Linked DNA regions of Homo sapiens: region 2 is linked to region 1. Evidence: promoter capture Hi-C in 16 types of primary human blood cells and fetal thymus (Javierre and others, 2016). All regions are on one chromosome and are shown on one strand. Each heading gives the region's core, a stretch centred on a gene start or on the middle of the fragment in contact. The rest is flanking DNA. Distances are from core to core; before and after follow the strand shown. Region 1 holds the start of FCRL2 (Fc receptor like 2). Region 2 overlaps AIM2 (absent in melanoma 2).

Region 1 (5,406 bases), core at 196-2,695:
CACAGCATTTGACACATAACTTATTTTTAACACACATCTCTCCTTGTGATATATTTTTAGTATTTTCTTTTTACATTATTATAAGCAAGGCTTTAATGACCATCACATATAAATATTAGCCTTTCTCAAAGTAAAACTATGATAATAGTGAGAATAAAATGTTAAGTATCCAATTGTTAAAAATTCAATGTTAAGTATTCAGGTAAATGTTAAGTACCTGAACAGGTAACATTGAGTCTATGAATATTTTCAGTCAGTCCCTCATTTATAAGCACCTGTGATTTTTTGGTTTAGAGTTTCATCCTGCATAAGGTTCACTGATGAGACAACATCTACTGGGACTACATCTAATCAAAGTGAGCATGATAATAGGTGTTCACATAACACGCGCTTTGCTTTGTGTGAGATAACTGTATTAGGATCAGCCTGGGGTACAAAAAGCAATGCAGATTAGAAATAGGCAATGTTGTGATTACAGATTAGAAAGATGGCAATGTTTTCAGCAATATAGTGCAAGTGTTTTGAAGTTTAGTAAAATCTCATTCTAGAAAGTCATCGAATGACTACGAAAAATTTTACTTAAGAAATATGAGCTATTGAAACAATGGCCTTATTATTTTATGAACCTTGAGAAGCAATATATCAAGATAATAGGGCACAATGTTTAAGAGCCAGACTGTGACACTGGGCTGCCTGGGTTTGAATCCCAGATCTGTTACTACTAGAAATTGATTAAGCTGATCTTGGTCATTTTACTGGCTGCTATCATCTGAATGTTTGTGTCCTGGCAAAATTCTTATGTTGATACTTAATCCTCAATGCAATAGTAATAAAAGGTACCCACCTTTTATTACATGACCTTTTAGGGGTCATGAGTGTGGAACTCTTATGAAAAGGATTAGTCTCCTTGTAAAAGAGGCTTGAGGGAGCTTGTTTGCTCCTTCCATCATGTGAAGACACATAGAGGACACCATCTATGAGAAACAGGCCCTCATCAGACACTGAATCTACTGGTGCCTTGATCTTAAACTTCCCAGCCTCTTGAACTATGAGTGATAAATTTATGTTGTTTATAAATTTCTCAGTCTAAGGTATTCTTTATAGCAGCCCCAATGGACTAAGACACTTACCTTTACTAGTGCCTCAATTTCCTTATTCATGTGAAAGGGGATAGTGCCAATTCAGAAACTTGCTGAAGGTAATAAATAACTCTGTAAGCATGAGGCACTTAGAACTGTGTCTGACTCATTGCAACCCATATGTAAATGCTAGGTATCATAATGAGGGTCAAGTTACAAAATTTCTCTGGCATTGAGAGGATCAGCTATAATTGTTTTAGCCCTTCCAGGACAAAGATAATGGTTAAACATAGTGGCACTATTCTACTTCCTTTTTTGCTAATTATACAAAACCTATTCTGAAAACCACATTTCATCGCCTGCTCAGAGTCTCCAGTTGGTGACCAAGAGTACATCTCTTTTCAAATAGCTGGATTAGGTCCTCATGCTGCTGTGGTCATTGCTGGTCATCTTTGGTGAGTTCAATAATTTGACTGAGAAGTGAGGTGGCAGCTGAATGAGGTCTACTGCTCCCAAAAGGTTGGAGGTTTTATTGGAGCCCAGGGACTGGTGGGGATGCTCAGGTCCTGCCTGCAGCTTGGGCTTCAAAGGCAGATGCAAAGAAGTAGGCTGAGGACAGTGAATTTGCAGCACATCCATTAAGCATTAAGCACAATGCTTAATGTTCAAGGTGGACCACTTTTCCATTTGCTGGTCATGAATTGCTATTTTGATATCTTAGATCTCATTGAGTAATATAATGTTCTCATAGTAAAATGTTCATAATATTAGCATTTAGCAATGCCCTTCTCCTCCATGAACACCGATTATTCAATTGTTATCTATAAGATTTGGGTTCAGCAGATGCATTGAGACCCTTTGCTAATATTCCTCTGTTTAATCGTGGACAATGAGGGAGATGACAGCTGCTGCTAGAAAATAAGATTCCTGGGTGAGTGCAGTGGCTCATACCTGTAATCCTAGCACTTTGGGAGTCCAAGGCTGGTGGATCACTTGAGGTCAGAGTTCGAGACCACCCCGGCCAACATGGTGAAACCTCATCTCTACTAAAAATACAAAAATTAGCCAGGCGTGGTGGTGGGCACCTGTAATTCCAGCTACTCGGGAAGCTGAGGCAGGAGAATTGCTTGAACCCGGGAGGTGGAGGTTGTGGTGAGCCAAGATCGCACCATTGTACTCCAGCCTGGGTGAGAGAGTAAATAAGATCCCTTTCTCTATGCTGTGTAGGCACTAAATAAATATTTGTTATTGGAATACAAAGGGCTCTAACGTGAAATATGGCCATAGGAAAGAGACTGATTTGTTGATTTCTTGGAACTCTCACAATGTATGTTTCCTGATGAGCCCTTTGTGATCGTGTTGTCATGTCTATCTACCACTTGAAAAGTCAGAGTGTGAGATAGAGTGGTGGGGATGGTGGAAGGAAAATGAAATCAAGGAGAGTCACTAAATATCCAACATGGGTATTCTCGACAATCCCTTTAGTCAAGCATTGGGTTTGCAACTTGCCTTTTGACTACAATGAATGACAGTTAGATGTGTGCTCGAGGGAGATTGAATTGTTAGTAATAAGAGATTAGGGAAATAGAAAAGAAAGGGAAAATGGAAAGAAGTTTTTGAGCAATTTACCAGAGTAATATAAATTTATAAATTATGAGGGCAAATGCTGTGTGCTAATCTCTGGCTTTTGATCTCCTCACAGATGCAGTCACTGAACAGGCAGGTGAGTCCTCCTTGTCTTTGTTGTTCTTGGTCTCTGGCATATCAGTCACCCCACTACCCCAGGATTCTATAGAGGTGGCTCTGGAAAGCCTGTGAAGATGTCCTAATATTACTGCCCTCTAGGCTGACATGTTCTGAGGTCACGCAGCCTGTTTCCAACACCACTTGCATGTCTGGGTGACCAGGTACCACCTAGCCTTCTCAAGACCCCACATGCTTGCCTCTTCCTTAAAAGCCTGGCTTTAAGAAGGGCAATAACATGCAGATTGAAGAAAAGAACAATTTGGAGAGAATTGTTTTCCTGCCCATAGGACTGTAATGCCTCTTTATTGTCTGGCTGAATGCTGAATGTTTTTACAGCTCTGAAAACAGCTATTTATAGAGGAATGTGTCAGAACTACAAACTTCTGCAGGGTCAGAATAAACATGTGTCCTCATTGCTTCTCTAGCTCTAGCTCAGGAATCAGCAAGCTTTTCCTGTAAAAGGCAAGAGAGTAAATAGGCTAAGCTTTTCAGGTGTGTGCCGTAACTACTCAATGCCATTGCTGTGGTAGCAGGAAAACAACCATAGACCATATGTAAACGAATGAGGATGGCTGTGTTCCAATAACATTTTATTTACCAAAACAGTGTTGGCCAGCTCACAGGCCATAATTTGCCAACCCGTGCTCTAGATTTAGTATTTAGTTTTGATTTTTTAAAAATGCATGTATTACTGTTCTAATCATAAAGAGTGAAATAAAGCTAATTTTATTTCACTCTTTCTGAGTTAAATCTGTGCTCAGTGAAGGAAGTCAATGGGAAAAATATTTTATTCTATATACAGAATCTTCACATGAGCCAAGACAAAATCTAAAGAAAGGGAGACTTGTTCCCTTGCCCATTGAATGCTGGCTACCAAGTGGAAGGGGCTCTTTGGGCTCTAAGGAACAGTGTGGGAAAAGCAGATCCTGCTGTCACCTTGAATGGAACAAGAGTGTCCAGGGAGACATTCAGGGGTCCTACCTGGAACTTGCTCAGGAGCAAGTCTGGTCTCTTGCATTCATTCTGTCCCACATAAGGTCCAGGAGTCCCACCCTGTGATACCCATCACTCCACTGTCTGTCTGGATGGAAATTAGAGGAAACCTCGATCAATATTCAGGAGGTTTCTGACCATTAGTGGAATCATGCCAAGACAGCAGGCTCCCTGAAGTGAATCACCTACGACCATTCAGAGAACAGGGCAACAGCCACTTCATTCTCTTTCTTTTCCTTTAGCAAGAGTTTCTCAGAAAACTGAGATGTTCTTCAGAAGTTTGAGATCTTTTCTTTTTAAAAAGAGTAAGAGAGAACTTAGTTCAGCATGATGTACTGGAAAGAGCAGGACTTATATAGCCAGAAAGACCAAATTGAAATCATGGCTTTGCTATATACCTGCTATGTAGGCTGGGCAGTCACTTGGCCTCTGAACCCCAGTCTTGGCTCTGGGGAAAAGTTTCTGGCCTGTTGAGAATTACAATCCCCTGCAAGGTTTGAAAATGCTATTCAGCAGAGCAGCTGAAAAGGTCTTTCTGTCCCCATCCATTGCCTCAATGCAGTCTTCCACCCCATTTCCTCTTTTCAGCCCCACCCATACACTGCACTCACCACCTGGGACTTTGCCCTTGCAAAGCTTTGAATACCATTTGCTTTTAGTTTTTGCTGTTGCTCTGGTAAAGATATTTTTCACTGAAATTCTTGTGAAAAAACATTATTCAGTCCTGTACATCTTGCTCTGAGTTAAATCTTTGTGCTCCTATTTATTTGCTCTGCCTAAGAACTTCTCGTTCACAACCTACCCTTCTCCCTGCCCCCTACCACTGTCCCTCCACTGCAGTTCTCCTCTATACCCTCTGGGGGTCAGCATGATTCTATTGGGCACCTCTGCAGGTAGAGCCACTCTCAGCCAGTTTCTGGAGGATGTGGAACTCCCTGAGGATGAACAAGTCAGCTTTGGGACTTGTTGCCCTCCCCTTCTAGGGCCTCTGACTCCTTGTACCCTGCTAATGGTGCATACAGATTAGAACTCTTGAGGTTGCACCACAATGACAGCCAGTGTAGAGCCAGCACACTTCTGCTGAGGCCTTCAAACTGCCAGGTGGTTGGCATTGGAGCCATCACAGCCATGCTAGAAGCAAGTGGATACAAACTGTCACACAAACCCATTATGACTCTTTGGGGTTCCCTGATATGAAACTATGAACCAACTTATGTCTACCCTATAGGTAGGACATCACTCTCAGAGGGTTTGACTTCAAGTCACCTTCATTTATTCAGTATTCCCGAGTCCACCCCATCTCACAGACCTGAAACCCATTATTTTGGTTGCTCTTGAAGTGCAGTTATGATGACCTCTTATTCCTCCTCAGCCATCATTAGCTTCTGCTACAAAGACATCCCCCATCAAGACTGTGAGATTTGTGGCTCACTGAGTGGTCCATAAATGCCAGCACCATTGTGTGCTTCTCTCACAGAATCCTTAAGACTGCCTGATGAGAGGCAAATGCTCTTTGTTGTTCCATTTCTCAGTTGAGAAACTGTAACTGAACACAGGTCCAGCTGCTCACTGCTTGCAAAGTCCAATT
Region 2 (5,097 bases), core at 1,095-3,594, 1.3 Mb before region 1:
CTCCTTGCCCATCTTTGTCTCCAGTTCAGTTGCAGTGAATATGGACGTAGAATTTCAAAGTTAACTTCTCCCAACTCCATTTACACAGTATGTAATGCTGTCACATTCTACTGAAGTCTTGAAAGTATAAATTATTGCATTGGAAAACTGTAAACCAGGATATTGAGCACCTTTTTTCCTTCACACAGTCTGTCTATTCCTCTCCTTGTCCCCAGCTTTCTGTGGTCCCAGACTATCCTTCTTTAGGCGATGATCTCCTCCTTCTTCAGAAGGGAGGGAGAATCCACCTTCAGGGATTTTCTTTCCTCTCTATCTCCAGTACAGGTGACAGTATAAATTACCCACAACACAAAGATTTTTTTTACATTATTCAATAAATCACTCATCTCCATCTGAATTATCTACATTTAGTTTAAATTCCTGATTTTGTTTACTAAGAACAATTGATATGTCCCAGCTTTATGTCTGAAGAACAAAAAGGAGCTAACAGAGGAGCATATCACTCAAGGACTCTCCAAAATGAAAGTCTCCAAATGCAACAGTTTTAGGATTCAAAGTACAACAGTAGCAGCAAAAATTATAATAGCTTTTAGTAGCATTTGTGGGTGTACAACAAGGGTGACATGGCTTCTCACACATGAGTTATAGGAAGGCTAAATGAAGCCACATAAGTGATACTATGTACATTCATAATTCTATACAGATATAAACTGTTAGGTAGTTTCTAAGGCACTAAAGAGAAAGGAGTGGTGGTTTTCCCAGGCTTTAAGTTAGAAGGTGTAGTTCTTAGAGATGGCCCTTAGATGGCAGTAACTACACATGTTACTTCCAAGTAACCAACCAAAACATTGCCCTGTGTTTTTCTTATCTGGGATGAGCCAGGAATCTAGGCATATTGGCAAACATAGGCTGAGATATTTAGAAATATCTTTTATTTTGGTAATAAATCAAGAATTAATTCTTCTCTTTGACCAGGATAGAACAAAATTTCCCCTTCTACAATCTTCTCCCCATTTTGCTATTCTAATGATTCTGGGATTTTGTTATTCTGCTTAGCTAAAAAAGATCCAGTTTGGGACTAGCTTGGAAACTCAGGAGTAGATTATCCAAGGACTCTCCCAAATGAGAGTCTCCAAATGTAACAGTTGTAGGATTCAAAGTATGCTTTTGGGCCAGGCGCAGTGGCTCACGCCTTTAATCCCAGCACTTTGGGAGGCCAAGGCGGGTGGATCACTTGAGTTCAGGAGTTCGAGATCAGCCTGGCCAACATAGTGAAACTTTGTCTCTACTAAAAATACAAAAATTAGCCAGGCATGGTGGCGGGCATCTGTAATGCCAGCTACTTGGGAGGCTGAGGCACGAGAATCACTTGAACCTGGGAGGGAGAGGTTGCAGTGAGCTGAGATCACACCTCTGCACTCCTGCCTGGGCAACAACAGTGAGACCCTGTCTCAAACAACAACAACAACAAAACACAAAGTATGCTTCTTGCATGCTATACAAGAAGGCAGTTAAGTTCCTTCATAGCTCTAAAATTCTATCCACGGACATACTTAGGCCGCTTTTGAATGTAGGAAATTTTTGTGTGTCCATGCTATTTCTATTATTTTAGGAAAACAGTTTTTGTTTTATTTTTTGAACAGTTAATCTGTCATTCTTGGTTAAGTGATCCTTCTCCATTGCCATTGCATGTCTGCATGTAGAGTGCTATATGCTATTCTACTCATGACCTCACCTCATGGAAGGTAGAAGATACCTGGAGAATCTTTAATGAAGACAGAGGCAATAATTAGTAGACAGGAGAAGCTTTTGTATGAAGCAAGATGAGAAAATATAAGGACACATAAGCGTAGAAAAAGGAAGCTAAGAGAAAATGTGATCAAAGTCCACAAAAGTCCTGCAAGATTAAAATAAAATGCTGAAAATGATAAATGAAATAATCAGTAACAATGTGCACCTGATTATTAAGGCAAATGAGAGATTTATAATTGGCAGACAAGCTTGTCCACAAATATTGCATTGGTACCACAGTGTGTGAAATGAAATATGGCTGATGTGATGTGGTAGAATGGTAGGTTGATTCCTTCCGCCTCCCTTGATGCTGTTTTCTCTCCGATGCTGTGAACATAGAAGAGAGACTTTATCTGCATACCTTTCTGAAACCAATTTCATGGAACTAACTTACCATTGGAAGGTTAGTTTAACTTCTTCCTAGTGCAGAGATCCTGCTACAATATCCCTGTCAGACAGTCAACCACTTTCTGATCTTTGAAAGGTAATGACAGAGTACCTACTACCTCATAAGACAGTTCATTCTACTCTTAGCTCTAATAATTAAATCGTTTCTCTTTTTAGTAAAATCAGTGATTGCCTTGCTATTTCAGTCCAGAATTGTTCAAATTCTATCAGAAATAACATCTAATAATTTCCCAGGCCCTCTTCTGCCTGAGAGTGCCTTAAGTCATCAAACATGGCCATCTTGTTACATGGTCTTTTTAAAAATCAGGAGTAGGAGTTGGCTTTTCACGATAACATATAACCTGACCATAGACGTGGAGGAGCCCAGCCAGAGTATACGACTGCATTTTGTAGGCATTAGTGAGGAGCCAACATGCCACCCATCCATCCATTTCTTCATCCATTCAGTAAATATCCATTGAATTGCTAATAGGTACAAGGAAAGCTTTTAGGTTCTTATGATAAAACAAGGTTTTAAAAACAAATCCAAATTTTGTACAGTTTATACTCTAAAGGGAAAGTAGATATTTTTCTTACAGGCAAATTAACTGAGACAGGTAACTAACTGAGACAAATGTTCTGATGGAAAGGAAGATGGTTCTTCAGCAGCATGTGTCAAAGGAGCATTAACATAAGCCAGGAGTTAGAGTTGGTGTTGGTCAAAGCGGGTTCCATGGGGAAGTGACTTGCACTAAGCTGTGAAAAATGCATAGGAGTTAAAGGTACCTTCAGTCAGAGGGAACACTGTGTGAAAATCCCTCTGACAGCAGGTGTTGACTTGCTTGAGGACTGAAAGAAGGCCAGTATGGCTGCAGTACAGAGAATCTTCAGAGGGCAGGATGGGGTCCCCTCGACAGAAGGAAAATGCAAGGCCTTGTAGAACATAATTAGAAATCTGTGGCCAGGCGCGGTGGCTCACGCCTGTAATCCCAACACTTTGGGAGGCTGAGGTGGGCGCATCACGAGGTGAGGAGCTCAAGACCAGCCTTAACAACATGGTGAAACCCCATCTTTACTAAAAAAATACAAAAATTAGTCAGGCGTGGTGGCATGAGCCTGTAATCCCAGCTACTCAGGAGGCTGAGGCAGGAGAATCACTTGAACCCAGGAGGCAGAGGTTGCAGTGAGCCAAGATTGCGCCACTGCACTCCAGCTTGGGTGACGGAGTGAGACTCCGTCTCAAAAAAAAAAAAAAGAAAGAAATCAGCCCTTGTTTCATAGCAGCAGTTTATTCATTTTCACTACTACATAAGATTCCATTTAATTGATAATTACATATACACATAAACTGATATACATATATATAGAGAGAGAGAATTGGTGTATTTTTATTGTTATTTTAGTCATTGGAGGCCATTATGAATAATGCTGCTATGAATATTTATGTACATTATAAGCCTTATATACTTATCTTTGTATGTTTGTATTTGTATGTGTGTTTCTCTTGACTGTACACCTGTGAATGGTATTACTGGATGTTAAGGTAAGTAGATATTGAATTTTAATAAATAGCGTCCCAAACCATTTTCCAAAGTGTTATACCAATTTAAGACGACTACTACTTCATAGTTTTTGTTTCTTGTCTTTTTTTTTTTTTTGAGACAGACAGGGTCTCACTGTGTCATCCAAGCTGGAGTGCAGTGGTGCAATCATGACTCACTGCAGCTTTGAACTCCTGGGCTTAAGTTATCCTTGCCTCAGCCTCCCAAGTAGCTGGGACTAAAAACATGTGCCATTATACCTGGCTAATTTTGAAAATATTTTTTGTAAAGATAGGGTCTCCCTATGTTGACTAAGCTGGTCTCAAACCCCTGGCCTCAAGTGATCCTCCAGCCTTGGCCTCCCAAAGTGCTGGGATTACTGGTGTCTGTGCCAGGTCCAGTTTCTTTCATTTTAAAATATGATTTTTTTTTAAGAAAAATTAGCTGTTCTTGAAGATATCTTAATATGGTTTTAGTATTTATTCCTGGTGACATTTGAAAATGTGCACTGCTCATATGTTTATATGCTTATTGGCCATGTCTTTCATTTTTTAATCAGTTGATAAGCAATACAAATCGGTAACAAAACCAAAGCCACTAAGTCAAGCTGAAATGAGTCCTGCTGCATCTGCAGCCATCAGAAATGATGTCGCAAAGCAACGTGCTGCACCAAAAGTCTCTCCTCATGTTAAGGTAGGATAAGGAGAGTGGAGTGGTCTTTGTCCTTGTAAGAGCATCACTGTCACTGTCACTTCCCATATTGTTCTCTGTTCTTTATCTCACAGCATGCAAATAAGGGAAGCAAGGCCACAGCATGAAAAGCATTCTGAGTCACAAAAACAGGAACTACCTTTGATTCATCAGATTAAACACCTGTTGAGCTTCTAATCTCTGCCAGGTTCTGGACACATTAACACTTTGTTATGTTTTGGATTCTATAAGAAGAAAACTCTGAGATAGACCGTTGTTTACAGGAAGTCTATTTTAGAGCACTTTCAGAATTAATATCTGTGAGGAAGTGAAAGGAGAAGAAGAGGAAGAATGTCAAGTCCAATGTAGTTGCAATAGAGGCCTTGGCCTACCCTACAGGGAGCTCGGGAGCTGAGAATGTCTTTCAGGGCTCCCAAGATTTGTGAGGGAGTCTGTGGTTTGTACAGGCCCAGGCTCTGGGTCACATCAGAGATCCAATTCAGAGACTCTGACACTCGGTCTGGCATGCCTCTGTTTGTTTTCTGCTTGGTTCTTGACAGCAAATTGCTTTTTTAAAAGTAATGTAAAAAAGCCCTTTATACACCTGCATGGACAAGGTGAGGTGGCCCCATTTAGCTGAGAGAGTAGTGGCTGGAGAGTGTCATTGGTGAGAATGATTACTTTAGTC

Evidence for each region. Contacts are between HindIII fragments. The CHiCAGO score rates a contact against its expected background, and 5 or more counts as called.
Region 2: a contact is called between a fragment that was not itself captured here and the fragment with the promoter of FCRL2 in region 1, in 1 of 17 cell types (naive B cells). The highest score is 5.7, in naive B cells.

What each region holds. Positions count from the first base shown.
Region 1 is chr1:157,773,171-157,778,576 of GRCh38, reverse strand. It overlaps FCRL2 (Fc receptor like 2), which reads left to right and starts at 1,445. Exons shown (of 12, transcript NM_030764.4): 1 at 1,445-1,534; 2 at 2,782-2,802. The coding sequence starts at 1,504. The HindIII fragment of the contact is 5,936 bases long and covers 1-3,274 here.
Region 2 is chr1:159,067,883-159,072,979 of GRCh38, reverse strand. It overlaps AIM2 (absent in melanoma 2), which reads left to right. Exons shown (of 6, transcript NM_004833.3): 3 at 4,279-4,412. Among named protein-coding and RNA genes, the nearest start is that of AIM2, 6.3 kb to the left of the region's middle. RefSeq lists an enhancer at 4,665-5,054. The HindIII fragment of the contact is 683 bases long and covers 2,003-2,685 here.